5 separate regions of the Homo sapiens genome follow, and regions 2, 3, 4 and 5 are each linked to region 1. Evidence: promoter capture Hi-C in 16 types of primary human blood cells and fetal thymus (Javierre and others, 2016). All regions are on one chromosome and are shown on one strand. The core of a region is centred on a gene start or on the middle of the fragment in contact, and the rest is flanking DNA. Distances in the headings are between cores, read along the strand shown.

Region 1 (6,351 bases), core at 1,570-4,069:
CAACAATCTCTCAGCCAAAAGTTAAAATGTTTAAATGGGCTTATCTTAACCCACTTCTCTTCTTCACATGTTGGCAAACTACAGATATTTAGAGTGGTGTTGTCCAGTGTGGTAGCCACTAGCCATATGTGACTAATTATAAATTAATTAGAATTAAATAAAATCAAAATTTCAGTTCCTCAATCATGCCACATTTCAAGTCTGTTCAGGAACCACATACGGCTACCATATTGGTCAGCACAAATACAGAAAATTTCCATCATCTGAGAAAGTTCTATCAGTCAGCATTAGGTCAGAAGTGTGTTTTTTAAAGAACATGGGGCCTGTGCAATCTTCAGAGAAAGATTGTAAATTATTACACATGTTATTGCCACTATCCCCCATAAAACGGGGCCAGGTCAGAGATCCTCGATGATATAAAGCCACTGTAATGTCAAAGCACAGGGAAAAGGTAAACAAAGGAGTGGAAAAAATGAATAGCAGGAAGAGAAAGCAACATCATGAAGCCTGGAGATGAAGCTTGAAGCAGGATTCAGGAGCCTGGGTTCTACTGCCTGTTATGCCAATATTCACCTTTTTAAAAAATATTTAATTTTTTTGCACTTCATGCGAATTAACTGTGATTTGATTGAACAGGCCTCTTTACTACTTTGGGCCTCAGTTTCCTTTTCTACAATACAAATTTAAGCCAGAGGATCACTAATTCCCTCTAGTTCTGTACAGTTAAAACACACACACACACACACACACACACACACAAGAAATGAGAAAGTAGGGAATAAAAGTAAAAATAAAAAGAGAGCAAGATCATTGCATATTGGTGGTGAAAACTGGCAGTCCTGTCATCTTGCCACAAGTTCTACTCCCAAGATTTGGATGCCACCAAATGAATAAAAATTTAATGCTATTCAATAAATACTTATTGAGCAATTATTTGCAACGAACTACAGTATTCGGAAATAGCACCACCAAAAAAAATGATTAGCCTTAAGACTCAATACGTGGAAAGAATGCAAGACTCACAAAACTTTAGGTTGAAAGATTGTCTCATTAACATGTAATAACCTAACTGGTCCAGTACTAAGAAACAAGTATTTCAAATATTCCTGAGGAAAAACAACTAGTAAATTATATAAAATAATATATAAAGTACAAACATACGGCATAATCAAAAGCATCACATTTCTTCCACAAAGAATATAAATAAATGCTACAGGTACTTGGGAACAGGAAGACATCAGTTCTGGCCAATCTAATTTTTCTAGAATCCACATTTAATTGGATACTCTGACATTTTCTAGTAAAATATTCTTGAGGGCTATTGGAATTAACAGATCCACAAAGTGTGCTAGACAGAATCAAATGCAACTGAAATTCCGGCCTCTACTATCTACTGCACAAATTCCCACTTTTCAGAGGCACTGTTGGTCCTATTTCCTAGTATCAAAGGGTAGAGAAAACCTTCCACATGCCTATTCTAAGAATTTAAATAGCTAATATGAAAACTTTAAAATGATTTTTACCTCTAGATTAAAAAGAACCAAGATAAACTGCGTCTGATATTTTACCTTGCAGAAGCTAAGTCAACCAGTGAGTCGTGTAACCTTTATATGAATTCCCTCCTGAAAGACTGGAACCATACCCCTGACTATTCTGGAGCAAGGGAGAGCAGATAACTAAAGCTCTCCAGCAAGCAAAACAAGGAGAAGGGATTTTAGGAACATGCCTTTTCTTTGGAAAGGCATTTTTTAGTACCCCACCTACTAATCTAACGCGGCGCGGAAACCTTGCAGAATTTGAAAACAAATGCTGAGAGGCTCCGGGGGACCGGTAAAGGGATTAGCAACTGACAGCTCGGCCTCGGAGCGAGAAGCCTCAAGTAGTTAGATCAAACCGTGTCAACGATCTGAAATCCAGGGTCCACCCCAGTGAGCTTAGAGAAGTACAGCAGCAGAAGGTAAGCAGGGGTTTGGCGTCTTTCAGTCCTAAAGATGCGGGATATCGGAACTGAGAGAGACCTAGAACCCAAGCCGGGCAGTTTGCCTGCTCTCACCTCTCTTGGGGGCTTTGATCAGAGGCACCCCTCCAGTCCTCTCGCCGTTTTCCTGCTTGTCCTTGTGCTTGAGATCGGTTCCGCAGGAGCTGGGATCACCATCGGGGCCGCGGTGGTGATGGTGCTTGTGCCGCTCCTTGTGGCCCTTATGCTTGGGCCCGGCCGCGCTCACCGTCAGAGGCGAGAAGGTGAAGAGGGCCGAGGTGCTTGGGGCCGGGAGAGGGGCAGCGACAGCGGGCCCGGCGGGTGCCAGCGAAGGTGGCGGCGGAGGCGGCAGGAGAAGAGGCTCAACAGGGCCTGGGACAGTTGGGGCTGCATTCGTTGGCGGCAGCGGCCCAGGATGTTGGCGGCTGCGACGCCGCCGGTGAGGGGGAGCGAGAGGGGGCTCCTGGCTCGGCCGCCCCCGCTTCTCCTGAGACCCCCCACTGCTAGATCGGCGCTGCCGTTTAACTCCCCGCGGGGAGACCCCAGCATGAGGTTTCTCCTTCCCCTCTTTGTCCGGCTCCTCCTGCGCCGCCACCGCCCGTACTACGCGCACCGCTCCGACCTGCGCAGCCATTTCACCCACAAACACACATTTAAATGGCCCGACCGCCCCCCCGTCCGCGCATCGCGCAAGCGCCGCCCGCGCACTGCCCGCTGGGCATTGGAGTCTCTCCTCCGCCCTCCACTTGTCGGCCGTTCTTCGTCCAGAGATGAACATGCCGGAAGCGGCCGTTCCCAGCTTTTCTCCGCAGGCCTCTCCAACCGAGCTTCTATTGTAAAGCACCCTATGCCGCGCAAAGCGTCATGGGAGCTGTAGTTCCGCCGCGCCCCCGCCGCGTCCCCGGCTCTGAGTGGAGGAGTGGAAAGGGAGCGTGCGCGAAGTCACGCTTCTGGCTGCGACGCAACCGCCGCTGGGCGGTGAGTTGCCGCCAACCGCCCTAACGGCCGAAACAATGTTAATGGCTTTCAGAGTCTGGCGGCGCGTTCCCATTATCATCTTCCTGTGACCCTTCCTCATTTTACACGGAGGAGGTGGTCTCCACAGTGATTTTAAATTTAATATTTCTCTCATAACCTTTGTGAGATAAAAGAATCTTCATCCTTTTAACTTTGACGAGGGATGAAATGAAGGTGAAAAGAGGATTTAGTAATATGTAAAATAAGGGTGGTTTTGCTGTAAAAATATGATAGGGCCGCAATTCAGAAATGTTTTCAAGCATCTGGGGCATTGCTATGGTTACAACTACAGGCCTACGAAGTCAGGTGCGAGAACTGCTTGGAGTCCTGGTGAGGACGGCCCCTCCTCGCCATCCGGCCACATCCCCTCTAATGCCTGGAAATGTCCAGCATTTATTTTGAATATATCCCTACAGTTGCGAAAAATTGTAGATGGAAAACCACGTTTAAGATTTTTTATAAGTTTTTTTTTTTCAAATCTTAAGGATAAGATTGCATAAATTTGAAAAGTGTGCCTACCGGAGAACACACCAAAAATCATCACTGCTCACTACGGATAGTTGTTGCTCAGAAATTCATTTAGAATTTCATCCTCGCTTTAGCTTTTACCTGGGGTTCTTTTAAGTATTTATTTAGAGACGGGCGGGGCGGGGCTCGGTGTCTCAGGCCGGTAATCCCAGAGCTTTGGGAGGCCGAGGCGGGAGGATTGCATGAGGCCAGGAGTTCCAGATCAGCGTTGGTAACATAGTGAGCCTCTGTCCCTACAAAAGTATTTTTTAAATTATCTGGGTGTCGTGACACGCGCCTGTAGTCCCAGGTACTCGTGAGGCTAAGGTGGGAGGAGTGGTCGCACCACTGCACTCTGGCCTGGGTGACAGATCTAGACCCTGACTCTTAAAAAAAAGAGACAAGGTCTCGCTCTGTTGACCAGGCTGGCCTCCAACTCCTGGGCTCAAGGAATGAGTAGCTGGGTCTACAGATGCACTCATGGTGCCCTAAGTAACTCATGGTTACCTAGAATTCTTTTAGTATATTTGTTTATTGATAAAGACATTTGGAAGTAATTGATTACAATGATATATACTCAGCAGATAAAATTACTGTGGTTTGATTTCACTAGTTTCTGGAGAAGTATTACCTAAACACTACTGCAATGAAGTCAGTTTAACAACCAAAAAGTTTATTGAGTGTCTGTTGGATACATTGTACTACAAGAGACAGATAATAATACTTCATTCAATTTGCCCTATTGGACTTCCAAATGAAAAATACTGAAGAACAAATGATGTTTAAACAATACTACATGTTTCTAAAAGTTATAAATAAAGTTATTTAAATAAAAATATTTTTAATGCATTAGGGGAAGTCAGGTGGATTCTTTGTAAAAACAATTACCTGCCAATTTATTTACTACATAAAATTAGAGTTGAACTAGATTTTCTTATGGCAGATCCATATTCATATAGAAATTCATTTTAAACTAGTATTTCTGATTGGTTAGATAAAAATTGCACATGATCTGAAAGATCCTGTATAAACATATACAATTTATATCTTTTGCTACCAAAAGATAGCTATTATATTTCATTGATTACTTTTCTAGAATTGGTAATTTAATGACTTTGGTTAAAACTTATCAGGATTTCAGTTGAATTCCTTGTTACATTCAAATAATTGTCATTATTTGCACATTTTATTCTAATAAATATAATTTCTCATTTTCTTAATATTCCAGTTTTCCACAACATTTGGGAAGATTTACAAGGTATACTCCATTTAGGCAAAAATAACTGTCAGGGAATAGTCATTGTCAAGAGCAGTTTGTATTGCAACCCACAAAGTAAGTTTTTTTTTTAACTTTTTATAGTATATTCTGGCAATGTAGAAATTAGTTGAGATCCAAATCTTACAAACCTTTTGAAGTTTATGTTTATGTAGAAAAGTAAAAGAAAATAAAAATAACTGGCAAAAATGAAAAATAAATCCATTCTAAAAGTGTTTCTCATATAGCATTCTGTACATAAGCTCAAGTGACAAACTTTTATTTGCAGTTTTCAACTCAATGCAAATGATATGAAAATGCAAAACTGGCACTTATTGGCATTTTGCTTTTCTTTTAAAAGCTATTAACACATTAGCATATCTTCATATTTGATATTATGCATATAGAGCACTTATTTTAACTAGCAGTATTCTAGTAGTTTTATTTGCAGGTGTACTTGCAGCCCATATTATTATAAATCTGGAGTTTTATTAAATATTCCAAGTTGGTGGTGGATTCCTTGGTCCTTTGGGTTTTGAAAAACGGTTTGCAAAACCTGGGAACAAAAATAAAGTTGAATGAAAAGAAAGATGTTTTAAGTATAGAAATGAATACTTGGATTTTAGAGTATATTATAATATATGCAAATACATGGTCTTTTTTTAAATGTTAGGCAGCATCTTGACCAGTTTAGTAATAGATTATAAAGGGATTGTAGTAATCTAAAGCTTAAATGATAACAGAATACTAATAACACTTTAAATTTGAAGAGCACTTACAAATTTAATAATGGTAATAATAGAATGTAGGACCCTGGTTATATATAGGCTTTGATAATTTAGTATATAATATCATTTGTCTATGACTTTTTGTCATCCACTCCATCCCATTAAATGAAGTCAGGAAATTTTAATTTCACAAAAATATAGCACCGTTACTTATAACATTATTGTATTACATCTAGTTATACCTCTATGTCGGTCCAGAAATCCTTCAATTTACCAAGAGATTATGTTTGAAAATCTTAGAAAAAATAAACAATCCTGAAAAACTAAGTAGGTAAGTAAACATTATTATTTATCTTTCTTCTTCAAACTTGTTCCCCCTACCCCACCCCAAAGAAGGAGGATGAGAAAATTTTTCACAACTAATGAAGGCTATTTCTGGATGCTTTCAAAAGATGTGCATGTTGATGATGTTGGTTCTTTATCATTTCAGCAACATGTGACTTTATGACTTTTCTTTTTGATGGTAGTGTCTTTTTGTTTGTTTGTTTTTTGTCTGAGACAGAGTCTTGCTCTGTCGCCCAGGCTGGAGTGCAGTGGCGCGATCTCGGCCCACTGCAACCTCCGCCTCCCGGGTTCAAGCGATTCTCCTGCCTCAGCCTCCTGAGTAGCTGGGATTACAGGCGCCAGCCAACATGCCTGGGTAATTTTTGTATTTTTAGTAGAGATGGGGTTTCACCCTGTTGGCCAGGCTGGTCTCAAACTCCTGACCTCAAGTGATCCACCCACCTTGGCCTTCCAAAGTCTGGGGATTACAGGTGTGAGCCACTGAGCCAGGCCTAATGGCAGTGTATTTTTAAGTTATCTTA
Region 2 (6,351 bases), core at 2,986-5,485, 970 kb after region 1:
AATCTGCTGATCTAGTTCTGTGGAATTGTATTATTTTTGTCAAATGGAAAAAAAAAATCAAGGTTTATGCCAAATAGATTTAAACAGTTAAATCTTTCCTAAAATTTCCTAGAAGTGTATTTTACAATGCTATGTAAAATAAATTGCTGGCTTATAAAAAATGCTCAAAGTTTCAGAGATGTGAAAAATAACAAAGAACTGAAAACATAGTTTATATAAATCAAGGTCCCAGAAATGAAAATTAAAAGTAGTCTCTTTGAGAAAGGAATGGTGAAATTCAGCATGTAGTATTCACATTAACACATCTGAGAACTGTGGACAGCCAATATTGACTGGAATTCTAAATTGCCACCTGATACCTTTAATTAAGATTAAATCAAATCTGAGGCAAGACACTTAATGGACAGTACTTGAATGGGAAGACAGTAACTTCCTTCCTTGATAGACAATCTCCAGCCATCATTCAGAGTTCAGTTATTTGATGGCTTGGGAAGCAGTGTCCATTGAGTTTTCCTTTCTGGCTTGAAGAGACTCACTGCTGATGGACAATAATTCTCGAAGTTCCTTATTTTCAAGCTGGAAAAAAAAAGGCATGTTTATTTCTGGTATTTTTACTGTCCAACTGCATTACAACAACACATTATTTTGAGCCAGGAGCAGAAAACATTATTTTAATTTTAAAAAATTTATGGAAACAAAAAATCCACTAGTTGAGAATTTCCTTAAATACTACTTTATTCATTTAACAAACATTTACATGTAGGATGTAGGCAATGATACTCTTTTGTAGTAGTAATTTACTGAGTAATTTCTATATACCAAGTGTTAGGATTACAAAGGAGAAACAAAAAACAAGGTCCTCTCCATTTAAGGAATTCACTGTTATATTCTTCTTGGTTCCCACAGTTTTACTATTATTTCTTTTATTTAAAAAATTCCTAATAATCGTTTCACTCTGATTAATCTCCTCTCCTGGATATCTTACAGTTCTAGAGAAATGGAAGGAAAGGGGGAAAGAAATTACTTATTGAGCATGTAGCTGGGTACTACTTGGGTGCCCTGTATATGTTATCTCACAATAATCTGTAGGGTAGGTATCATTGCCTACATCCATATATTTCAGATGAGGATACTCTGGCTCACAAAATTCCTAAAAGTTGTCCAAATTCAGACAACTTGGATGTGGTATTGCTGGGGTCTGAATCTGGTGGTCGTGTATTTTCTACTTGAAGTATTAAGGTAGAATTTGCCCCACATTTCCTTAGGGCTGTTTCCGTAAGTGAGGTAAATCGGGGATAAATAGAAGGTCATGCTATCATTTCACTAGCTCCTAATTCCTACTTGGGACCTGTCACTACCTTTGATTTCTAGAGAGGGTAGCTTCTGCTCTTCATCCTTATCCTCTGCAGAAAACTCTGGTAAACCAAAGCATTTTTAGCTTCACCAAGATGTGCGGAAGTCCCAGCTAGAGTAACTAAGAGATTAGAGCCTGTGGTCGACGAATCTTCTACCACATGAAGTGCTTCCTTCGGTATTTGTATCTGTCTCCTAGCATTTACATATTATTTAATATCATATAATACTAGGGTTATCCCTTCCACTAGACTCTGGGCAGGTATCTGTTTTTTTCTCTCTGGTATTTCTCAAAGGCCCCAGGACAGCACCTTGTAATAAGCAGCATTCAAACCATTCACTGAAATGCTTTGCTTTTTTTTTTTTTTTTTTGAGACAGGGTCTCACTCTGTCACTCGGTTGGAGTGCAGTGGCATGCATGATCGTGGCTCACTGCAGCCTTGACTTCCCAGGTTCAGGTGATCCTCACACCTCAGCCTCTGAGTACCTGGGATTACAGGTGTGCACCACCACACCTGGCTAATTTTCTGTATTTTTTGTAAAGACAGGGTTCCGCCATGTTGCCCAAGCTGCTCTTGAACTCTTGGGCTCAAGCAATTCACTTACCTCAGCCTCTCAAAGTTGAAATGTTTTTCCTTAACAATTTTATGAGCACACTAATACCCCGAACTTTTTTTGTAACATATTCCTATTCTAATCAAAATATGACATAAACATAGCTTTTAAGAAATCAAGACTACAAGGCTTATACAAGCAGTTCTTTGGCTTTGTACCCCAAATGCAACCACTTTTAACACTTTTATCTATTTCTTTTGGTATTTAATTCTGTAATTCTAAATAATATGCTTATACTGCTATTTCCTGATCATCAATTTTAGACATTATCTACTTCACTTCTTATTATGGCAGATGAAGGATTTTATCTCACATATAACTTCTCCCCTCCACTCCCTCTACCTTCCCATATGATAATACCTCAAGTTCTTGCCAATACATAGTTGGTATTTCCATTGATTGCTGTTTACTATATTTCCTTTCTTCAAAAGGGTATAAAAGGGTATGAAGGAGGAGTTTTAATTTTAAATCATGAGCACACAGAAAACATCAATATATTACAGTGATGGGATAGTGATGGCATATCTTCCAGACTCGGAAAACTATGAAATACTGTGAACCTAAATTAGCTACAATCTTACCTCTAATTGGGCTAATTTTTCCTGAATCTTACAAAACTGGTCATCATCCACCTGAACTGCTTTCCTCATCACTTCTCCCATTTCACAGATTCTGTCAATCTGACTCTCAATTTCCTGTGAAGATATTAAGGAAACAAAGGTGGAAAAATCACCTGTTCTGTAGATATAAAGAACGTAAAAGCATGTGCATTACGATTTTTAAAAGTTCATTTAATCTATGATACAGAAGTTACAATGGAGTTTCCCTACAATTTTAGTCCTCAGACATGAAGCCATAGTAAAGTGACCTTGTATTCACGGATATTTTTTTTTTTTTCTTTCAAAAAATCAATTGTGGAAGACAGTGTGGTGATTCCTCAAGGATCTAGAACTAGAAATACCATTTGACCCAGCAATCCCATTACTGGGTATATACCCAAAGGATTGTAAATCATGCTACTATAAAGACACATGCACACATGTTTATTGCGGCACTATTCACAATAGCAAAGACTTGGAACCAACCCAAATGTCCATCAATGATAGACTGGATTAAGAAAATGTGGCACATATATACCATGGAATACTATGCAGCCATAAAAAAGGATGAGTTCATGTCCTTTGTAGGGACATGGATGAAGCTGGAAACCATCATTCTGAGCAAACTATCACAAAGACAGAAAACCAAACACCGCATGTTCTCACTCATAGGTGGGAATTGAACAATGAGAACACTTGGACACAGGGTGGGGAACATCACACACCGGGGCCTGTCATAGGGTTGGGGGAGTGGGGACGGATAGCATTAGGAGGAATACCTAATGTAAAGGACGAGTTAATGGGTGCAGCACACCATCATGGCACATGTATACATATGTTAACAAACCTGCACGTTTTGCACATGTACCCTAGAACTTATTTAAAAAACAAACAAAAAAAAGGCCTCCTTAAGGGGATCCTCATTCCAGTTGTATATGTTCTATTGATACCACTACTAAGGAATACAGTTTTTTAAAATATATATAATGTTTCTTATATTTAAAACCAAGAAGTGAAGAGTAGAATGCATTTTCTGTTTTCGCTCTTTGCCCAGACATCAAGTTGATAATCATATGGTTATCTGTGATATGCATCAGCTCATAAGTAACCCTTTGGTATGTGAACATGGGGAATTTTAAAATACTGGGCTCTTCAATATGGATTTGTGTTACACTCATGTCATCATCTCATGCCTTCCAAGATTTCAAAGGATCTGATGGCTGTAATTGCAGAGAATAAATGAGTAATCTTTAGTCTATTTCAGAAATAGAAGGCCACATGATTCCCTTTCCATAAAGGACTAAGGTTTCATCCAATGCCAACTCTGGTAAGGCCTTAGTCATTTTTGTGGGTGAAATCTGATTCGATGCAAGCAATGTTATTTTCATTTCTGAAAATTATCTATGTCCAGTGCATCAATCCCCCAGTAGGTCCACACTCCAATAAAAAGATTTGAAATGGAAAAAAAAAATCAATTGTAGTTTAACTACCCATTGGATGTTGGATACTATCTCTAAGTGGCTGTTTAACTTAAATTTGAATACTTTTACTGGCAGGAAGCTTACTACATTCCAAGGTGCTTTATTCCATCTTTGGACATATCACTTAGAAAGTTTATCTATCTGAGTAAACTCTGTCTCTTTCAAGGTTCAAGTTTTTTCCTCCATACGAGAAGAAAATCTATTTTTCTCTTCCAGATGAAAGCCATTCAAATATTTAAAATATCTGTTTCCTAAAACTTTTAAGTCAGTAAAATGCATTCAATGGAATTTAAGATGAAGCTTATATTTCACTACATCTCACAGAAGTAGTAGGCTCCAACCCTATACATCTAGAATTAAATGATACAGTACACAAGAATGTACAATGACAACCATGAAGCACCTATAAACATAAGAACAATTACTGAGTCTCCCAAATTAGCAAAGAACAGAAACTATGCCATGTTTGTTTTTTTAAAAAACCATACTTCTCTCCCCTAACAACATAGTATGATACTATGTGGTTCAGTTTATAAAAGGTTTACTGACTGCCTGCTGTATGTCAGGTACTATGTTAGGAATAAAATGTGAATTCATGCGCCTTACAAGCAAGGAGCTTAAGTTAAATGTATAAGTAATAACCAACCAAGTGTTTACCAGGCAGCTTCAACACTAACTGGCATTATGTTTGGTGGGAGCGCTAAGAATTAATGAACATTTTCAAAAGAGATCTTGGTGAGGGAGGGGGAACCTTAGTCCCACTCAAATAAAAGGATCTGAGCAGCCCCTATCCTCCTTCTTTCTATTCATATCTTTACAAAGCCATGGCAAAATAAACAACAAATGTGATAAACATGAAAGGAAAATGAGCTTACTTTTCTTCAAAAACAAGCACACATGGCCAGGCGCAGTGGTTCATGCCTATAATCCCAGCACTTTGGAAGGCTAACGTGGGTGGATCGCTTGAGCCCAGGAGTTTCAGACCAGCCTGGGCAACATGGCGAAATGTCATCTCTACCAAAAAACAAACAAACAAACAAACAAACAAACAACCCCACAAAAATTAACAGGGCGTGGTGGTGTGCACCTGTAGTCCCAGCTGCTCCGGAGGCAGAGGTGAGACGATGGCTTGAGCCCAGGAGGCAGAGGTTGCAGTGAGCCGAGATCGTGCCATTACACCACGGCCTGGTCGACAAGAGCCAGACCCTATCTCACAAAGCAAAAAAACAAGCACACAATCTAAAACAATCTCAAGATTTCAATTTGGTTCATTTCGAATTTATTCAAAGTTTCTTACTGCAGAGTGAGACTGGTGAGCTTTCAGGACTGGTTCAGCATCCACCGCTTTTTTAGCAACCATTAACTGTAACATCTGTTTCCGATATTTGCTCATGATAAGTTCCAAAGCATCCTGGTGTTCCTCCAAGGAAATCCATAGCTCTGTCAAAAAATAAAAGAACTTGGCAGTGATGTCTGAGAGACAGTTCCCAAATCCAAAGTCTTAACAGTTGGAATTTTGTAACACTATATAGATAATATGAATCTAAAGTTGTAAATCAATGTTTAAGTCCGCAAAACTGAACAGTTAAAGTCTATGTGAAAGGTAACTTTCTAGGCAGAGAAGCAAAGTCTTGCAGAAACAACAATGGATGTATCATCAGAAGACATGTGTTTGAGTTCAGTTCTGTAACTTGCTTGGTTAATACTCATAAGTAAATCATTTAGCTTCTTCTGAGCCTATTTCTTAACTGCATTGTGGTAGATAAAAATGAAGATATGAGAATACAGTAGAATGATATATGTGAAACCCCTCTGGTAAACAACTATTAATACCACAATCATTAATAATGTACTAATCAAGCCTAAGAATATATACCCTTAGAATAAAATTCTGCTGCTTCACCTTGCACAAACAAGAACATAAACAAAACCTTAAATCTTACCTTCAGTGTTTATATTAATACTTAAACATTAAATTTTAAGTCCATGAGGCTATGAACTCTTTTGTTACACATCTGAGGATGCTTAAAAATAAACCATGCAATAATACCAACTCTACACAGCACCTCTTTGGTAAGCTGCTGCAATATTAGTCAGATGACCTTGAAAAGGGTAATCTAACAAACTTTATTGTTACTGGGCCAGATCAGGAGGACTCTCCTACTAAAAGTACTGACCTGGAAATATATGTACACTTTTGTAAATGTTTAGGGCAATTTTGCAATAACTTTAAACTATTACCAGATATGAAAAGGCCTGACTAACCTCTGTTTTCCTGTTGCAAGTCTCTAATCTGTGTGTTC
Region 3 (6,351 bases), core at 802-3,301, 950 kb after region 1:
GCTGGTCTCCAACTCCTTACCTCAGGTGATCCGCCCACCTCGGCCTACCAAAGTGCTGGGATTGCAGGCATGAGCCACCACGCCTGGCCCAGAATGTAAATATTTCAAACCAGCTGTTTTGTTTAATTCACCCAGTTCTTAAATCGAGATCTCCCCTTCCTGCAATACAGCTGGTCTGTGTATTCTAATCTAATGTTATAGAGAAACTGTACCAGGCTCTTGCGCTAGATATGAGGTCATGTGAAACTAATTAGGTAATTAGGTAATTCTACTTTTAGTATACATTCTCAAATATCACAGCAATAGGAAATGTAAAAAAAAAAAAGTCTTACTAAATTATATCAATACAATTACTATTAATAAGGAAGGATAAAGCCTTGATTTCTACCATTACACATAGCTTCTGAAAACCTTCTTTAATTATATAATCATTTCATCATCATCATTCTGAATATATCCCAATTGTCTTTAAATTCCTTTAAATTCCTCCTTGTTCCAAAATTAATATCAATTTACATTTAACACAAAATGCAGTCTGTATAAACCGAGAAATATACATTTTAGCTTCTAATGCATTAAAGAAAGTAACAGGTGGAACAATTTGATATAAATCACAAGTTAAAATGATTTACTGTTTCTACAAGTAAAACCCACAAACAGAAGTAGGTTTCATTATTAGATCACTACATAATGATTTTTTTCAGATGAATTTTGAAGTCAAATCAAAAACTGAAAAAATGTGGTTATCTTTTTATGTTTTTTTTTAAATTAAATCAGAAACTTGTTAAATCACTTTGGAAAACCATCTCCTATGCAACAGGGTGACATGGATTTTGGGAAGATAGTCTGTTAAGGAACCATCAGAAAAAAATTTGAGAAATTATTTTTAGTTATTCATCATATTTAGTTTTCTACTCTGAAAAACTTAGACAATGAAATTGATAATGATTGTGTGCTTTTTTTCCCTCTACAATCATCAATAAGTACATTATCTCTGAAGTCTACTTTAGAATCAAAAGTAAGCATTTCTTACAGTTTGTAAGGTTTTCTTGAGCAGCGGTGGGTGAGATTTTTGTCATTTCTCTGTCGAATGAGAAAAATTAGGTCAATATAGAGCTTTTTTAAAAAAATTAAATAAGGCTAAATTTATTCCAGATTTTAAGAGTTGTTTTTATTCTGACATGTCCTCCCTGTTTAGGGAAACTAAAGAGGATCTTCTTTTATAAAATTATGATAGGCTGGGCACGGTGGCTCACAACTGTAATCCCAGACTTTAGAAGCCAAGGTGGGAGGATCGCTTGAGCTCAGGAGTTCCGGACCAGACTGGGCAATGTAGCGAAACCCCGTCTTTACAAAAAAATTGAAAATTAGCCAGGCATGGTGATGCATGTGTGGTCCCAGCTACTCAGCAGGCTGAGATGGGAAGACTGCTTAAGCCTGGGAGGTCATGGCTGCAGTGAGCCATAATCGTGCTATTGCACTTCAGCCTGGGCAACAGAATGAGACAAGGTCTTAAAAAATATTTCATTAAATAAGATAAAATTATGATAATAGTGCATGGTAAAGAGGTCCACATCCAAGGTTTCAGAACAGAAATAATACTTCTAGAGCAAAAACATTCATAAAGAAGAATTATTTCCATAAGAATTAATGTAAATAATTAAGATTTGGTCCTATAGGCCTACAACCCAAAACTTTTTATTCTTTAACCAGCCTCTAAACAGTTAAAGGGCATTATATAAATAAGAATAACATAATACCACTAATGTAATAAAATATTAGAATTTAAATAAGAATGCAAAAGCTTTATATAATGCTTCCCTTTAAAATGTTAAAATTGCACTTAATAGGATAATTATGTGGACATGCTAAAATGCTGCACCAAAAGTAACCATCTAACATTGTAGCTCTGGGAGTCAGTTAATAGAGGGAAGGGTAGAGCAACAGAATATTTATAATTTAACTTAAACTGAATCCTGATGAAATCCAATTGTATTTAACATAAATCCAAACTCTTTTACTGTGCTCTTCAAGGCCCTGAATGATATAGTCCCCACCAAATTCTCTAACCCCTGGTTAACTGGTTCTTCCTATATTGTAAGTTTGTTCCTACTTCAAGGCCCATGAATTTACTGTTGTCTCTGCCTGGAATGTTCTAGCCCAAATCTTTGGGCACTTTCTCATCATTCAGATTTCAGGTCAAATGTTAACCACTTTACAAAGGCCTTTTCTAAAGTAAAAGTACCCACTAAACTATCAGTTTCCATTTGTTTATTGCTCATCCCTCTGAACTACAGCATAAGCTTCAATTCTCTAGTTCATCATTGTATCCCCAAAACCTGGCACAGTGACTTACGTATACAGTAAATACTTAAACAATATTCATTGAATGAGTAAATTTCACTTATTTTATTGAATCCAAGGCAGTAGTGATTGTATGGTAGGTCATCATTTATGGATTACTAATAAGAAAATATGTAGCCATTGCTATAAAGACACATGCACACATATGTTTATTGCAGCACTATTCACAATAGCAAAGACTTGGAACCAGTCCAGATGTCCATCAATGATAGACTGGATTAAGAAAATGTGGCACATATACACCATGGAATACTATGCAGCCATAAAAAAAGATGAGTTAATGTCCTTTGTAGGGACATGGATGAAGCTGGAAACCATCATTCTCAGCAAACTATCGCAAGGACAAAAAACCAAACACCGCATGTTCTCACTCATAGGTGGGAATTGAACAATGAGAACAGTTGGACACAGAAAGGGGAACATGACACACCAGGGCCTGTCGTGGGATGGGGGAGGGGGGGAAGGATAGCATTAGGAGATATACCTAGTGTAAATGACGAATTAATGGGTGCAGGACACCAACATGGGACATGTATACATATGTGACAAACCTGCGCGTTGTGCACATGTACCCTAGAACTTAAAGTATAATTTAAAAATAAATAAATAAATAAAATAACCCTAAAGCTCTAGAAGAAAATATGTAGCCATTTTCATTATTGATATGGTTTGGTTGTGTCCTCTCCTGAATCTCATCTTGAATTGTAGTTCGAATAATCCCCACATGTCATGGGAGGGATCCAATGGGAGGTAATTGAATCATGTGGGCAGTTACCCTCATGCTCCTTTTCTTGTGATAGTGAGTTCCCATAAGATCTGATGGTTTTATAAGGGGCTTTCCCCCCTTTGCTCAGCACTCATTCTCCTTCCTGCCACCAAGTGAAGAAGGATATGTTTGCTTCCCCTTCCACCATGATCATAAGTTCCCTGAGGCCTTCCCAGCCAAGCTGAACTGTGAGTCAGTTTAACTTCTTTCCTTTATAAATTACCCAGTCTTGGGTGTGTCCTTATAGCAGTATGAGAATGAATTAACACAACAAATTGGTACCAGGAGTTAGTGGGTCACTGCTATAAGGATACCCGAAAATGTGAAAGCGACTTTGGAACTGGTAACAGGTAGAGTCTGGAACAGTTTTGAGGGCTCAGAAGAAGAAAATGTGGGAAGGTTTGGAAATTCCTAGAGAATTGGGGACTCAGAAGACAGGAAGATGTGGGAAAGTTTGGAACTAAAATGCCGATAATAATATGGACAATGAAGTCCAGGCTGAAGTGGTCTCAGATGGAGATGAGGAACTTGTTGGGAACTGGAATAAAGGTGATTCTTGCTATGCTTTAGCAAAGAGATTGGCAGCATATTGCCCCTATCCTAGAGATCTGTGGAACTTTGAACTTAAGAGAGAGAATTTAGGGTATCTAATGGAAGAGGTTTCTAAGTGGCAAAGCATTGAAGAGGTGGCTTGGGTGCTCTTAAAAGCATTCAGTTTTATGCATTCACAAATATATGGTTTGGAATTGGAACTTGTATTTAAAAGGGAAGCAGAGCATAAAAGTTTAGAAAATTTGCAGCCTGATGATGCAGTAGAAAAGAAAAACCCATTTTCTGGGGAGAAATTCAAGCTGGCTGTAGAAACTTGCGTAAGTAATGAGGAGACAAATGCTAATCATCCAGACAATGGGGAAAATGTCTCCAGGGCATGTCAGAGACCTTCATGGCAGCCCCTTCCATCACAGGCCTGGAGGCCAAGGAAGGAAAAATAGTTTCCTGAGCCAGGCCCAAGACCCCCTGCTCTGTGCAGCCTTGGGATATGTGCAGCCTTGGGACACGGTGTCCTAAGTCCCAGCTACTTCAACTCCAGCTGTGGCTAAAAGGGGCCAAGGTACAGCTCAGGCCATTATTTCAGAGGGTGCAAGCCCCAAGCCTTGGCAGCTGACACATGGTGTTGGGCCTGTGAGTGTGCAGAAGTCAAGGATTGAGGTTTGGGGACCTCCGCCTTGATTTCAGAGGATGTACGGAAATGCCTTGATGTCCAGGCATTAGTTGGCTGTAGAGGTGGAGCCCTCATGGGGAACCTCTGCTAGGGGAGTGAAGAAGGGAAATGTGGGGTTGGAGCCCCCACACAGAGTCCCCACTGGACACTGCCTAATGGAGCTGTGAGAAGAGGGCCATCATCCTCCAAACCCCAGAATGGTAGATCCACTGACAGCTTGCACCGTATGCCTGGATAAGCTGCAGACACCTAACGCCAGCTGTGAAAGCAGCTGGGAGGGGGGCTGTACCCTGCAAAGCCACAGGGGTGGAGCTGCCCAAGGTTGTGGGAGCCCACCTCTTGCATCAATGTGACCTAGATATGAGACATCAAGTCAGACGAAGGAAATCATTTTGGAACTTTAAGGTTTGATGATTGGTGTAATGGATTTTAGGCTTGCATGGGGACTATTGCCCCTTCGTTTTGGCCAATTTCTCCCATTTGGAAAGGGTATATTTACCCAGTGCCTGTACCGCCATTGTATCTAGGAAGTAACTAACTTGCTTTTGATTTTATAGGCTCATAAGGGAAGGGTCTTGCCTTGTCTCAGATGAGACTTTGGACTTGGACTTTTGGGTTAATGCTGGAATGAGCTAAGACTTTGGAGGACTGTTGGAAAGGCAAGATCATGTTTTGAAATATGAGGATATGAGATTCGGGAGGGGTCATAGGCGGAGTGATGTGGTTTGGCTGTGTCCTCACCCAAATCTCATTTGGAATTGTAGTTCCCATAATGTCCACATGTCGTGGGAGGAACCTGATGGGAGGTAATTGAATCATGGGGGCTGTTACCCCTGTGCCACTGTTCTCATGATAGTGAGTGAGTTCTCACAATATCTAATGGTTTTATTTGTATTTATTTATTTATTTATTTTTGAGACGGAGTTCTGCTCTTGTTGCCCAGGCTGGAGTGCAATGGCACGATCTCAGCTCACTGCAACTTCGGCCTCCTGGGTTCAAGCAATTCTCCTGCCTCAGCCTCCCAAATAGCTGGGATTACAGGTGTGTACCACCACGCCCAGCTAATTTTGAGTTTTTTTTTTTTTTTTTTTTTTTTTTTTTTTTTTTTTTTACTAGAGATGGGCTTTCACCATGTTGATCAGGCTGGTTTTGAACTCCTGCCCTCAAGTGATCCACCCACCTCGTCCTCCCAAAGTGCTGAGATTACAGGCATGAGCCACCACTCCCAGCCTATCTGATGGTTTTATAAGGGGCTTTTCCCCCTTTTGTCAGCACTCATTCTCCTTGCTACCATGTGAAGGACGTGTTTGTTTCCCCTTCTGCAATGATTGTAAGTTTCCTGAGGCCTCCCCAGCCTTTCAGAACTGAAAGTCAATTAAACTTCTTTTCTTTATAAATTACCCAGTCTCGGGTATGTCCTTATAGCAGCACGAGAACTGACTAATACAATTATGAAATAAAACTTTCACTACTTAGAATTTTTATATTTATTGAAAGGGCTATTTTAAACTTTTTTTTTTTTTGGAGACAGGGTCTCAGTCTGTTGTCCAGGGTGGATTGCAGTGGCATGATCTCAGCTCACTGCAGCCTCCATCTCCCAGGCTCAAGCAATCCTCCTGCCTCAGCCACCTGAGTAGCTGGGACTATAGGCATGCACCACCACGCCTGGCTAATTTTTGTATTTTTTTGTAGAAATGGGGTTTTGCGATGCCCAGGCTGGTCTTGAACTCTTGGGCTCAAGCAGTCCTCCTGCCTCAGCCTTCCAAAGTACTGGGATTACAGGAATGAGCCACCTGTGCCCTGCCTAGACATAGATTTAAATCATGTCTCCCTTTTGTGTGTATATGAAGTAAAAAAAAAAAAAAATGGCAAAATAAATTTGTTAAGGTATTCCTAAAACTTCTTCACAAAGTCTAACTCTTCTGAATCTCTTTCTTTTCAGTAATAAATTTGACCATATTTTAAAAATTCCATTCATCATGAGGCAACATAAAAAAGT
Region 4 (6,351 bases), core at 2,412-4,911, 920 kb after region 1:
TTGTTTAAATAAAATTGTTTAAGGAATTAATAAGTATTCATAAATAAAACATGCCTTGATCTCTTACTTTTTCCAGGTGACCATATGTCATTTTTTAAGAAGCCTTTCCTGGTCTCTAAAATGTAAATCACAATACTTACATACTGTCCTGATTCATCTTTATTACATGTATTGTTGTCTTTCTAAACATCATATACAGTATTTTACTCCTCTAGTCTGCCCCATATTTTCCACCAAAAAATAAGGTCAATGAATACAGGGATGTATCTGATTTCTTCACTGCTGTATCCCCAGTGTCTAAAACATAACACACACTTAAGAGTTCAGATGAGAGCCAAAAATAAGTTGCAGGTCTTTTAAAGTCAGAGATCCAAGATCCTAAATTACAATTAATTTTTTTAACTTCCCATTATTTTTCACATTTAGATTCATTCTTCTTCAAAACAATCTTCTAGGGAAATGCCTCTCTTCCCTACTCCATGGTGATGTATACATATCTTGGGGTTATTTTTGTTTTTTTCAGACAGTCTTGCTCTGTCACCCAGGTTGGAGTGCAGTGGTAGGATCATCATGGCTCACTGCAGTCTCAACCTACCAGCACAAGCGGCCCTCCCACCTCAGCCTCCCAAGTAACTGTGACTACAGGCATCCACTACCACAGCTGGCTATCCTGGGTTTATTTTTCAAAAGAAGACAATGAATTGAAAATATAAAGCAAATTTCCTAAAATATCTAGGCCAATCCTTCTCAAACTTCAGTGTATACCAGAATCACCTAAAGGATTTATTAAAAAAGAATGCCCACTCACAGAGTTTCAGTGGGTATGGGATAGGGTCAGAGAACGTATATTTCTAACAAGCAACCAGGTGATGCTGCTGTTCTATGGAATCGCACATGAGAATGACTGATGTAGAATAATTAGGCCTCATCTCCCTCTACTACTCCATCCTTTATCTCCCACTTAAAAGCACAGGCTGAATAAGAAGTCACAATTTATTACCTGAGTGTGTTTTGTTCACTTTTTCTGCACTGACTTTGTTGCCTTTGCCTTTGGACAAGCTATACTCGACCATGTCCCCCAGTTCCAGGCTATCAACATCACCAGAGAACTCACTAAGGAGAAAGGAAATGACATTTAACTAAACATTACCATAAACATCAACAGTAACAGGCAGTCTTTATTTTACAGTAACAGTCATGGCATGGCATGCTTATTTACATTAGACACCATTTTAAGTAATTTCTATGTATTGACTCATTTAATCCTCAAGAATGCCCCATGAAGAGGTAACATTATCCCTAACTTCAGGATAATGAAACTAAGATACCAAGAAGTTATTTGGTAAAAATTACACAGGTATAAAGTGGCAGGGCCTGGATTCAAAAACTGAACTGTCTGGTTCTAAGAACCCTTACTTTCTATTTTTTTTTTTGAGACAGAGTCTCACTCTGTTGGCTAGGCTGGAGTACAGTGGTGCGATCTCAGCTTACTGCAACCTCTGCCTCCCAGGATCAAGTGGTCCTCCCACATCAGCCTCCTGAGTTGGTGAGACTACAGGTATGCACCACCATGTCAGGCTAATTTTGGTAATTTTTGTGGAGATGGAGTTTCACCGTGTTGCTCAGGCTGGCCTCGAACTCCTGGGCTCAAGGGATCCACCTGCCTCAGCCCCCAAAGTGCTGGGATTATAGGCATGAGCCACCACACCCAGTCAGACCCCTTACTCTTACACTACATTATACACCAAATGGCCAACTCTATGGTACCAACACAAAAAATAAGGTGGCACAGGCCTTTCTATTTCTTTTGGCCACAGGCTCTGTATATAGTAAGATCAGTGATTAACTTCAGTTTATATCTTGCCATAATTCTACCAATATGAAATCTGAACCTCAACAAGTATAATCAATCAATACTAAATGTTTTTTATTCCAACACCAAAGAATGGATGGTAAGTTAGCTGTAAAGTTCCTGAAAGTCACGCCTTACCTGTAATGGAAAAAGATTTCCTTATCATGATTGGCTGTTTCAATAAATCCAAAATTATCCTTCAGAGTTGCCACATAACCCAAGAGCCTCTTGGAGTTAGAATTACGACCTAAAAGTCGCACACAAGTTGCAACCTGCTGTCCAGGCCTCTGTTTGTCACTAATACTAAATTCAACCTGTGAAAATTAAGGATGCTCATTAACACCATATCACTTCCACACCAATCTCCTTAACTCAGAAAACAAGACCTATAACTCCCCCAGCGCATGCTTTTCATTCCAAATATCCTTTGTTATTACTTCAATGAAATTGATTTTCACCAAAACATTTATGTCTCATCCCACTTTTCACAAAGGATCAAACTTTTATCTTTCAGTCTGTATTCCTTATAGATTCTGAATTTCTCTAGAGGGCTATCCAAAAACCAAACATATTAAGTATGAGAAAAAATGAACAACAACGTAAAATCTTTGGTGTGCTTTTACTTTGATAATGTTTCAGTAGTAACTGTTTTAACTTTCTTACCAATAACGATTTTATTAAGCATGTTTTATCTAACGTTTAAACAGCTAGATTAACAAGGCTTTGATTAACAAAGAGCTTGACAGACACTTTTAATAAGCTGCTTTCAAATACAAGATATTCATGTATTTCTCTTAAACACAAAATATATTTCAGCAAAACTTGATAAAATTTGAAGAACCCATCCTGCAGGATTTATGATTAAGATGACAACTCTTAACCCTCTCTCGAATGAGCAGAATTATCTTGCCTTATCTCCTATTTGAGGAGAAGTAGATCCTTCCACATCCTTGGCTTGAAAAGCAATAGTCAGTTTCACCCCACAGTCATCATAAGCAATAATGCCATCCTCAGCCTCCTAAAGAGATACAGTCAAAAACAGAATGAAAACAATCTCAAGAACAAAAACCAATAAAAACAACTATAGTTCTTACATATTCTTGTGCCAAAGGATTGGTACAGCTGTAAAAATGTCTTATTCCAGCATTTTCTAAAAGATTATTCATATGAATAAAAGGTAGTCTTGCCTTAAGCCTAGCTCAGTCTGCTGTAATTTTTAATTGGTCTTTCAATCTTAAGAATCTAATTTTTGCTATTGAGGAGAAAAAAGCTTACTGAAAATGTTTAATACACCTGCGCTCCTCATAGCCAATCAGAAATTAAACTGGGCATGTTACTTCCAAGGAAGTGGAAATTCTATAAGGGCAAGAAGCTTTAGTATTTCCTAAAGAAGCTGCTGAAGTATCCTCTTTTAGTAGCACACAGCACCTTGCACAGTATTTAATATATAATGTCAATCAATATACTTAACAATGCAGGATAATTTGGTGTATGATCTAGCACAGTTCAAGTACTTGACATAAAGTAGATGATTAAAAATTATGACATACTAGTATTTCAACAATTTTTTTTAATACCAGACTTCAAGGAGAAACAACATTTCAGTCATCGTACGTGTAAGAATGATTAACTCTTAAAAAATCTAAGGGCTGGTCTGAAGGTAGTGGGTTATCTCGATTGTTCAGTCAGTTACAGATCGAACTTCCTTGTTCTCCTCTTTCCCCCCTTCTCACTACTGCACTTGACTAAAAAAATAAAAGTCTAAGAAAGTTCAGGTGTGTCGTATTGAATCACACCGTTAAGTAATGACAGTGTACAGCAACTACATAAATTATACTGATTTTATGGTTTCAACATTTCTATGAAGATAATGCCCATGTCCCTACTCTAGCCCTGACTTCCTTCCTAAACTCCAGTCCTCATTACAAACTACGATATATTCAAAACCAATTCATTTTCCTCTTCTACCAATCACATTCCTTCCATAACTGCTATATAATAATTTATTGAACACTTACAACATTACCAGGTATTATGTATTATCAAATTAATCTTGTACAAAATCATCTCCATAGTTTCTCTTTTCCCTCATTTTACAAATTGGGGAAATCTGAGGAATTAAGTAAACCTTACCAAGGTTACAAAACCCAGCGCAAAATAATCCAGAGGATTTGAGTTTGGTTAAGAACAATGTCAGTGAACTCAGGTCTGACTCCAATGTCATCAACTTTTCCACAACCAAACTCAAAAGCTTACTGTTCACCTTTTGCTCTTAACTCACCAACTTCAACATCAACAGCTGACAATATACTATACATCAAATATATTAAATAGAGATAGGAGAATCCCTGCCCTGAGGGAGTCCAGTGCAGCAGAGACAGATTCATTAACAGGTAAATGTTATATACTGTAAGAAGCATGATGACAGAGGATTTACTAGGGTACTGTTGGACTAAGAAAGAAAAAAAAACAAAAAATGGCAGGGAAAGTCTCACACAAAGGCTCTCTTCATCAAGCCAGTTTTGCCAGACACATTTGGGAAGCAGAGCATTCCAAGAATTAAAAGTTATTAAAAATAAGCCCAACTGAAGTGTATTTTTATTTTTGTTAACAGTATCATCTGTCACATGCGAAATTCCTATTATGAGCTAGGTACTTCGAGGGCTTTTTAAACTATTACACAATCATTTTTGAAATTTAAAAACTGAAGCTCAGAGGTGAAATAATTTCCCAAGCTACAGTAAGTGATAAGCAAGATACTAGCCTTGCTCTTTCTGGCTAATAGCAATTATTAAATTATAACATGACTTTCCAGTATCTCTCATGTACCTTCACTTGTCTATAGTCACTATCTGTGTGCCTAGTTCAAGGACTACCTTAACTATCCAAGTAATTTCATAGTAATCCTTTTCATCTTTTGTCTTTCTCCATCCCATCTAGGCTTCATATTGCTGCCATTACTCTCCCAAAGCACATACCTGATGTCATTATCCAAAAGAAATCTTTTCCTTGAAGTACAGAACAAGGTCTAAATTTTTTTTTTGGAGACGGAGTCTCACTCAGTCGCCCAGGATGGAGTGCAATGGCGCCATCTCAGCTCACTAAAAGCTCTGCCTCCTGGGTTCACGCCATTCTCCTGCCTCAGCCTCCCGAGTAGCTGGGATTACAGGTGCCCACTACTATGCCCGGCTAATTTTTTTGTATTTTTAGTAGAGATGGGGTTTCACCATGTTAGCCAGGATGGTCTCAATCTCCTGACCTCGTGATCCGCCCGCCTCAGCCTCCCAAAGTGCTGGGTTTACAGGTGTGAGCCACCGCACCTGACAATAAGGTCTAAATTCTTTAGAGCAGCAATCAACACCCTCCCAGTCTAGCTGGATCCTGATTTTTCATCCTTATTTCTCCTAACCTCCCTCACCAACAAAAACCCACACACAAAACCAAAAAAAAAAAAAAAAAAATTCCTGTCGGACTAGTTACTCATTGCTTCCTAAAGAAACCCTGAATTTTTCTCATCTATACTTTTACTCTGTGAAGAATGCTCTTTCCTGTCTCCATCTGTTAGTAAAACCATCACATACCCTACCAGTTAATTTTCACCAGAGCACTATCGCTGACCTTCAATAGCAATATTTTATATTCTATATGAATTACTTGTTTCTATAAAACTCTCAATTTGTTATTAACTTGAAAGGAGAATTCATCTCAGACATCTTTCTATTTCCTATTTAGTGGATTTTTCAATAAATGAAATTTAAATGTGTGAACTGAGGATACACCCAACTTTGAAAGTTTTAAATTGCCTGGAAGACAGTACTATCATTTTATATAACTAGTTCTCTACTTGGAATGAGTTTGCCTCCCAGGGGACATTTGGCAATGTCTGGACACATTTTTGGCTGTCACAATGGGAGGCAGGGAAAAGGGGTCAGAATACTAACTTCCAGTGGGTAGAGGCCAGAAATGCTGCTAAACATCCCATCCCCCACAGTAAAGAATCATTCATCCCAAAATGTCAATAATCCCAAGGTTAAGAAACCTTACTTTGTTTAGTTCACTGTTAATATGACAGAAATTCTGAAAGAGACAAACTTCCGCTGATTATATGTACTCTATTACTATGTGCTGTTAAAGCAGAAGAGAAATAAACAGCTACAAAAATCATTTGGATTATGCAAAACCTACCTTCTCTTTGCCTTTATTTGGGCTAGTGGTTTTAGGATTGGAAAAAGTGGCTTCTTTTTCTACCGTGCCCAGAAAACGGTGATCTGAATGGGAATGAAATGAAACCGTGCCCTTGGGAAGTTTTTTAATCCTAATAGCATGATTTCTTTGAGCAGAGAGCATATCCTAAAAATGATAAAACAAAATTAACTTTCAATTGAAAAAGAAAGCATCAAGAAACACCTCCCAACTTTTCTCAGAAACAACTCACAGGAACCACAGTAAACTCTACTTCATCTGCAATATGGAGCTGGTTCCCATCCAGAATTTCACTG
Region 5 (6,351 bases), core at 1,046-3,545, 690 kb before region 1:
CTGAGAAAACATCACTACTTCGATGTTCTACTTTGCTTTCCAAGGAGCAAAAATAACTTTGGAGCCTTCTGGGAAGTGTGCCTGGGATTCTTCAGTGGTTTCAGGCAGATAGTTGAGACTGGGGCTTTGATATTCAAGGTCTTTGGCAAGAATCCCAGGCTTGACCAACTGGTACCAGGTCAAAGATTTTTGTATTCTTGTGAATTTTTTTTTTTGTCCCTATTGCCCAGGGATGTCATTGTAAATATATGTGCATTTATAAATAATTTTTGTATTCATTGACCATATGTGTTGGCTGCAATGTAAATATTTTTGATATGCCAAAATTATATGTAATATCCAGTTATAATATTGACAAGTAGCTTCTCAGATCACAGATTTTAAATAACTCAATTTAGTGAGATCTAAAAATTTTATTTAAAGTATAAAAACTGTGGCTCACACCTGTAATCCCAGCATTTTGAGAGGCTAAGGTGGGAGGATTGCTTGAGGCCAGGAATTTGAGACCAGGCTGGGCAACATGGTGAGACCCTGTGTCTGCAAAAAAATAAATTAAAAAAATAGGTGGACATTGTGGCATGCTGCTGTAGTCCTAGCTACTTGGGAGGCTGAGGTGGGAGGGTCACTTGAGCCCGGGAAATCAAGGCTGCAGTGAGCTGTGTGAAGCCACTGCATCCCAGCCTGGGTGACAGAGTGAGGCCCTGGCTCAAAAGTAAAATAAATAAATAAAAAGTTTTAAAAACTTACTTGTTAAGAAGTGTATCTATAGAGGCAGCTACTTAGTGATTGTATACACATAAACACAGTCTTGGTGTAATTAACCGCCTTCTTCATGCCTAGAGGTTCATACTTCTGGTCATTTGCCATCTGTTTAAAAGTGCTAGGTGATACTCCCTTTCTAACATAAAAAGCTTGTTCTTTCAGAGCCTGGCAGTCCTGTCACAGCTGTATGCACCTAGAGGAAAACTTGTTTGGAAATTCCTTTCATTTCCTCCCCCTCTCCCTCCTTCCCTCTTTTTTTTTACTGAAACAGAAATTGATTGAGGAAGGTTCAGTCATTCCTTCAGGAACCAATGAGTTAGATCGGGTTGTTACTTTATGTATAATGAACGCTTCAAAAACTGGAGGCTGATTTAAAGATTGCAGAACTTGAGTCAGACTCATAAGCAGTACTGTGACATGAATTGGAGCCAGAACAGTTGCTGATATCAGAACCATCTCTTTCATTCTGTGACTTTGCTCTTGCCATGTTCTGACTGGGGTGAGCCGCTAGGATACAAATCACTATCACTGTCCATATTTGAGTCTGCAAATCTTGTCATTGTCTGCTTTAATGCTCTTTGAGTTGCAACAGGTGTATTATTTAAATGAGTATTTGAAATTCTGTGAACAGGAATTCTTTTGGTAGTGAAATAGGTGCTCACACCTGCTTGCTCAGAATGTGAAAATATTATTTCTGAGTTCTCTTTGTTCACTTTCTAAAGTGACTGTTGTTTGGTGTTGGAGATGTTAACTGGGTTCTATTAGGTGTGCTATATCTTGGCAAATATTCCCCATGATGAACTCTTCCTACTATCACAATCAGGACTATGACTGGATTTCTCAGTCTCAGTGCCCCAGATTCACCATTTCTGATTGTGTCTGGAGAACGTTTTCCTGGAAAGGCATTCCATGTTCCAAAAGCTACAAAAACATGCCACTTTGCAACTATGGGTCAGTTATTTGCTCTCTCAATGTCTCATGTTGCTGAGTTCTAGAAAATCTCTGTCTCATTTACCAGGGGTCATTCAAAAGTCTGAGATGTATATTATCATGAAATATTTGTGAAATTTCTCACCATGAATTTGGAGGGAACCTACTTTTATTTCTCGCTCTGGTTCTCCATTGGTCTGGGCTCCTGCTTCTCAGTCTTCTCTGACCTCTGGTAAGTGGAACTTTCATTAATACTTCTGTCGCACTTTGTACCTGACCTAGGTGGCCTTGCAAATGTTGACTCAGATTGTGGATTTTCCACTTTCCTCTGTTTTCCCTATTTTCTCCCCTGGGAAATCTTGCAGATGATGCATATTCATTTTCTGTATTCAGCCTTCCATTATTAAGGATAAAATTGATCCCTACATTGAATCTGAAATTACCACTATATGGATTACTCTGGCTCACTGCTGTCCAAGCTTGGTTTTCTCTTTGCTTACTTCCTGTCATATTTTCAGTTTGCCCAAAAGAGGTAAGCCACTTTATTACAGACCCATTACTAGTGCTAGACGTCATCCACCTCTGTTTTCACCTGATTCTTGTGGGGAATCCTCTTTAATTTGTTGTAACCTTCTCAGCAACTCTTCTGTACTTCACCTATAGTGCCTAGCAAATTGTTATCACTCATAAGCCTGTAATCTTCATCACTCAGGTTATTTGCAAGTAGAAAGCTTCTGGAACCATTTGTCCATCCGACTTCTGCACTGGGCCACATCCATCTTCTTCATTGTCAGAATCTGAGTTTTCTGTCTTGAAGAACAGCTGGAAAGTTGTCTGGCTGTTATGACACAGTATTGAAATACCAGACTGAGTTTCAGTTGTTTCTAGTTGTGTTCACTTTGTGCTTTCTCTGAATGGGAATATCTTCTTTCAGCAAAGTTCTTCATTGACCAGGAAACCAAAGATTGCTTCTTTTCCAAGTTTGTTTTGTTTTTAATCTTTTACCAATGTGCAGTATATCTTAAGAAGGGAAGAGTGCTCTTGGGAGTAGAAGAACATGCAAACATTCTTTTTTCTTTATTATTATTTGAGATGGAGTCCCTCTCGGTCACCCAGGCTGGAGCGCAGTGGCATGATCTTGGCTTACTGCAACCTCCGCCTCCCAGGTTCAAGCAATTCTCTTGCCTCAGCCTCCCAAGTAGCTGGGATTACAGGCACACCACCATTTCCAGCTTTTTTTTTTTTTTTTTTTTTGATATTTTTAGTAGAGATGGGGTTTCACCATGTTGGCCAGGCTGGTCTTGAACTCCTGACCTCAGGTGATCTGCTTGCCTTGGCCTCCCAAAGTGCTGGGATTACAGGCATGAGCCACTTGCCTGGCCCCAAAATTCTTATACTGTAAAGCCTTGTAGTGGTCCTTATTTTTTTTTTTTTGAGACGGAGTCTCGCTCTGTCACCCAGACTGGAGTGCAGTGGCACAATCTCGGCTCACTGCAACCTCTGCCTCCCGAGTTCAAGCCCTTCTTCTGCCTCAGCCTCCCAAGTACCTGGGATTACAGGCATGCACCACCATGCCCGGCTAATTTTATTTGTATTTTTAGTAGAGACGGGGTTTCTCCATGTTGGTCAGGCTGGCCTCGAACTCCTGACCTCAGGTGATCCACCCGCCTCGGCCTCCTAGAGTGCTGGGATTACAGGCGTGAGCCACCGAGCCCGGCCGGTCCTTATTTTATACAAGTGATTAAGCCAAAAATTTTCTTGAATTTCTGATACCAAAGAGCTTTAGGTAAATAACTTCACACTCTAATGCAATGTAATTCTTTCTTTGTGCTTTCAGATTTCCTTACACTTCCTGTCCAGTTCTCTCTTCTAAATCCAATATTACTCACTAGATAATTTCAGCCACTTAAATAAAAATATCTATTTTTAAGTCCTGGTTCAAGGGTTCCAAACTCACATAATTTCTCAACTTTTTGCCAGAAAGTTGAGCATTTATTCATACTTATTTTCAATCCTAAGTGTTCTCCCATGGGCAGCAGCACTTCTTGAGCTGTTTAGTACTGCCACACCTTTTTATGTCTTTACTATGTCAGCCTCTGATCATTTTCACTTTGAACTTCCTAAAGATCACAATTTCCTATCCCTTCAATCTGCGATCCCTCTTCTTCCTTTCTTACTAGATTATGGTGTAGTTTGTACTAGACTGACTCATTAAGACCTTGTACGCTTCCTGAGTCTGCTTATTACTGGCTTTGTAATCAAGGGTGAGTCTTTTTACTTCTCTAGGCTAGATTTTCTCATTTATGAAATGAGGACATTTTTCTAGATGCTGTAAAGCCCTTTCCAGCTGTAACATTCTATGAATCTGTAATTCCCTCGAGGAGCTAAGGAGGATTATGCTACTTTAATAAAAAGCTGCTTTGGTGACATTTGTTCGAGTAGAACAAGAGTGATGCTGCTCATTCTGACTTGAGCCAGATGTATTTCCTTTATAGCAGGAGTAATGGTCTAAGAAATACTCATTAGGAGAAAAAAATTCTGCTTCTAAACAGTATTAGTAAACAAAGAATCTTGACTCAGTTGAAAAACCACCCATTGCTCTCTAGAGCAGAATGTCTGAATGCTGGTTTTATAGCACACTAGAATATCAGAATGAGTTGACAGGTATACCACAACTAATTTGTAACTAGTTTGTGACTCACCTTTCTAATGTATTCGAAGTTATCCCTATAATTATATTACTCTCGCTCAAATTCTGATAGATTTCCTGAATGGAATAGGTGGAATTAGGGCTAGGCTGCCAGAGACTGTGCCAATGAGCATCACCCGTCATGTGTGAGAGAGCAGAAGATAGCCTGTGAGCCAGTGCTCTAGAAAACATCATGTAGGAGGCCGGTCACGGTGGCTCACGCCTGTAATCCCAGCACTTTGGGAGGCCGAGGTGGATGGATCAAGAGATCGAGACCATCCTGGCCAACATGGTGAAATTCCACCTCTACTAAAAATACAAAAATTAGCTGGGCGTGGTGGTGCGCGCCTGTAGTCCTAGCTGCTCGGGAGGCTAAGGCAGGAGAATCACTTGAACCTGGGAGGCAGAGGTTGCAGTGAGCCGAGATTGCACCACTGCACTCCAGCCTGGTGACAGAGTGAGACTCCGTCTCAAAAAAAAAAAAAAAAAAACCCGTGTAGGAGTACTGCCTCTCTGCTCTAGCAGTGGTCCTTCTACTGACAGTGCTGTCAGAGTCTGGTCTCCTAAAGAGCCAGGTCATTTTCCATTGTGTCAACTCAGATGGTTGAGATGTCCTTAGATATTCCTAGCTTGCCTAAATAACTAGTCAGCAATCTATTTAAATGTGAAGAGCCTATCTCTGGTCTTTAAATAAACACACACACACACACACACCCCTAGGAAAAGGAATTCCTGAAACTTTTCATTATTGCATATGTTTCTGATCAAGCAATATGTTAACCCTCTAAGTAGGATTAGTGTCCCATGAGTATTTCTTCCAGCAGAATCATGTCTGCCTAATGCTAATCAGGAATGTTGCAAACTGAAATGCTCCTTTCCCCACTGCCCCCTAATGACCACTTTCAGGAGGAATACATACATTCTCTTGATTTGTTTGTCCCCTTTCAGGCTGATTCTCCACTTCCACCTGGAAGAAAAGACAGTATTCCTTGAACTCCATGACCTACTGGTACAGGATCTACACTTATGCCATTGGCTTTCTGTCACTCCGCAACTTGTACTTTTTTTTTTGAGACAGGGTTTCACCCTGTCAGCCAGGCTGGAGTGCAATGGTGTGAACGTGGCTCACTGTCGTCACTGCAGCCTTGATATCTCAAGCCCAAGTGATCCTCCCACCTCAACCACCTGAGTAGCTGTGCCACCACACCCGGCTAATTTTTGTATTTTTTGTAGAGATGGAGTTTCACCTTGTTGCCCAGGCTGATCACAAACTCCTGGGCTCAAGCAATCTCCCCACTTAGGCCTCCCAAAGTGCAGGGATTATAGGCATGAGCCACCGCACCCCGCAGTACTTTCCCTCGTATACAAGCTACTCTCCTGAAAAAAATAGCAGGAACCCATTCCAATGTCCAAGCTCCCCTAAAGTGCCAACTCAGAATAACTTTCATGTTTAAAAACAGCTGTCTTCACATTGCCCATTGTGAGGTTGTAAAAGGAAGTTAAGATGTCAAGCAATTTAGATTCTGTTACCCATTTCCCTATGAAAAGAGATGTGTTAAAAGTCTTTAACTACTTAAAGGGTCATCATGAAAAATAAGAATTCTATTCCAGAAGACAGAGTTATACACAGGGAGGTGTATTATATACTTGCTAATAAATTTTTGTGTAGGCTCTTTAGTAAATTTATCTGATAATGGAATAATCAGCCTTTTTGGTGGAAAGGTACATACAGAAGCTAAATCATCATCTGTTAATAGTGTTTAAGAGATTTCTTCATTGAGATGGAATATGGGCAAGATGACCTTTAAGGTCTTTTTCACTTTTATCATTGGAAATCCCCAGAAGCAATCTGATAGTCTTAAAACTTTGTCCTTTCTAAGTCCTTTGTATTCATTTTAGAGCTCTTCAGGAAACTAGAGAATTTTGGACTTTGGTTGACAAAAGCGGTCTGACCTGTGTTCGTAGCTGGG

Evidence for each region. Contacts are between HindIII fragments. The CHiCAGO score rates a contact against its expected background, and 5 or more counts as called.
Region 2: a contact is called between a fragment that was not itself captured here and the fragment with the promoter of RSBN1 in region 1, in 3 of 17 cell types (total CD8 T cells, fetal thymus and total B cells). The highest score is 6.9, in total CD8 T cells.
Region 3: a fragment that was not itself captured here is called in contact with the fragment with the promoter of RSBN1 in region 1 in 1 of 17 cell types (total B cells); the score reaches 5.1 in total B cells.
Region 4: a contact is called between a fragment that was not itself captured here and the fragment with the promoter of RSBN1 in region 1, in 1 of 17 cell types (total CD8 T cells). The highest score is 5.3, in total CD8 T cells.
Region 5: a contact is called between a fragment that was not itself captured here and the fragment with the promoter of RSBN1 in region 1, in 1 of 17 cell types (M1 macrophages). The highest score is 6.4, in M1 macrophages.

The regions. Positions count from the first base shown.
Region 1 is chr1:113,809,657-113,816,007 of GRCh38, forward strand. It overlaps RSBN1 (round spermatid basic protein 1), which reads right to left and starts at 2,820. Exons shown (of 7, transcript NM_018364.5): 1 at 2,054-2,820. The coding sequence starts at 2,756. AP4B1-AS1 (AP4B1 antisense RNA 1) reads left to right here and starts at 2,956. Exons shown (of 5, transcript NR_125965.1): 1 at 2,956-3,169; 2 at 4,731-4,835; 3 at 5,722-5,816. It overlaps PTPN22 (protein tyrosine phosphatase non-receptor type 22), which reads right to left. Exons shown (of 21, transcript NM_015967.8): 21 at 4,155-5,313. The coding sequence ends at 5,249. RefSeq lists enhancers at 1,631-2,160, 1,885-1,944, 2,095-2,184, 2,161-2,690, 2,565-2,954 and 1 more. The HindIII fragment of the contact is 4,966 bases long and covers 518-5,483 here.
Region 2 is chr1:114,773,797-114,780,147 of GRCh38, forward strand. It overlaps SIKE1 (suppressor of IKBKE 1), which reads right to left. Exons shown (of 5, transcript NM_025073.3): 2 at 6,314-6,351; 3 at 5,346-5,488; 4 at 2,550-2,663; 5 at 1-576. The coding sequence ends at 475. Among named protein-coding and RNA genes, the nearest start is that of SIKE1, 3.7 kb to the right of the region's middle. RefSeq lists an enhancer at 6,075-6,351. The HindIII fragment of the contact is 221 bases long and covers 4,126-4,346 here.
Region 3 is chr1:114,759,793-114,766,143 of GRCh38, forward strand. No RefSeq gene overlaps it. Among named protein-coding and RNA genes, the nearest start is that of CSDE1, 5.0 kb to the left of the region's middle. The HindIII fragment of the contact is 499 bases long and covers 1,803-2,301 here.
Region 4 is chr1:114,724,221-114,730,571 of GRCh38, forward strand. It overlaps CSDE1 (cold shock domain containing E1), which reads right to left. Exons shown (of 20, transcript NM_001007553.3): 11 at 6,288-6,351; 12 at 6,038-6,202; 13 at 2,763-2,870; 14 at 1,991-2,166; 15 at 1,001-1,113. It also overlaps the pseudogene RNY1P13. Among named protein-coding and RNA genes, the nearest start is that of NRAS, 11 kb to the left of the region's middle. The HindIII fragment of the contact is 879 bases long and covers 3,223-4,101 here.
Region 5 is chr1:113,124,457-113,130,807 of GRCh38, forward strand. LRIG2 (leucine rich repeats and immunoglobulin like domains 2) reads left to right here. Exons shown (of 18, transcript NM_014813.3): 18 at 1-6,351. It also overlaps the pseudogene RLIMP2. Among named protein-coding and RNA genes, the nearest start is that of LRIG2, 54 kb to the left of the region's middle. The HindIII fragment of the contact is 252 bases long and covers 2,170-2,421 here.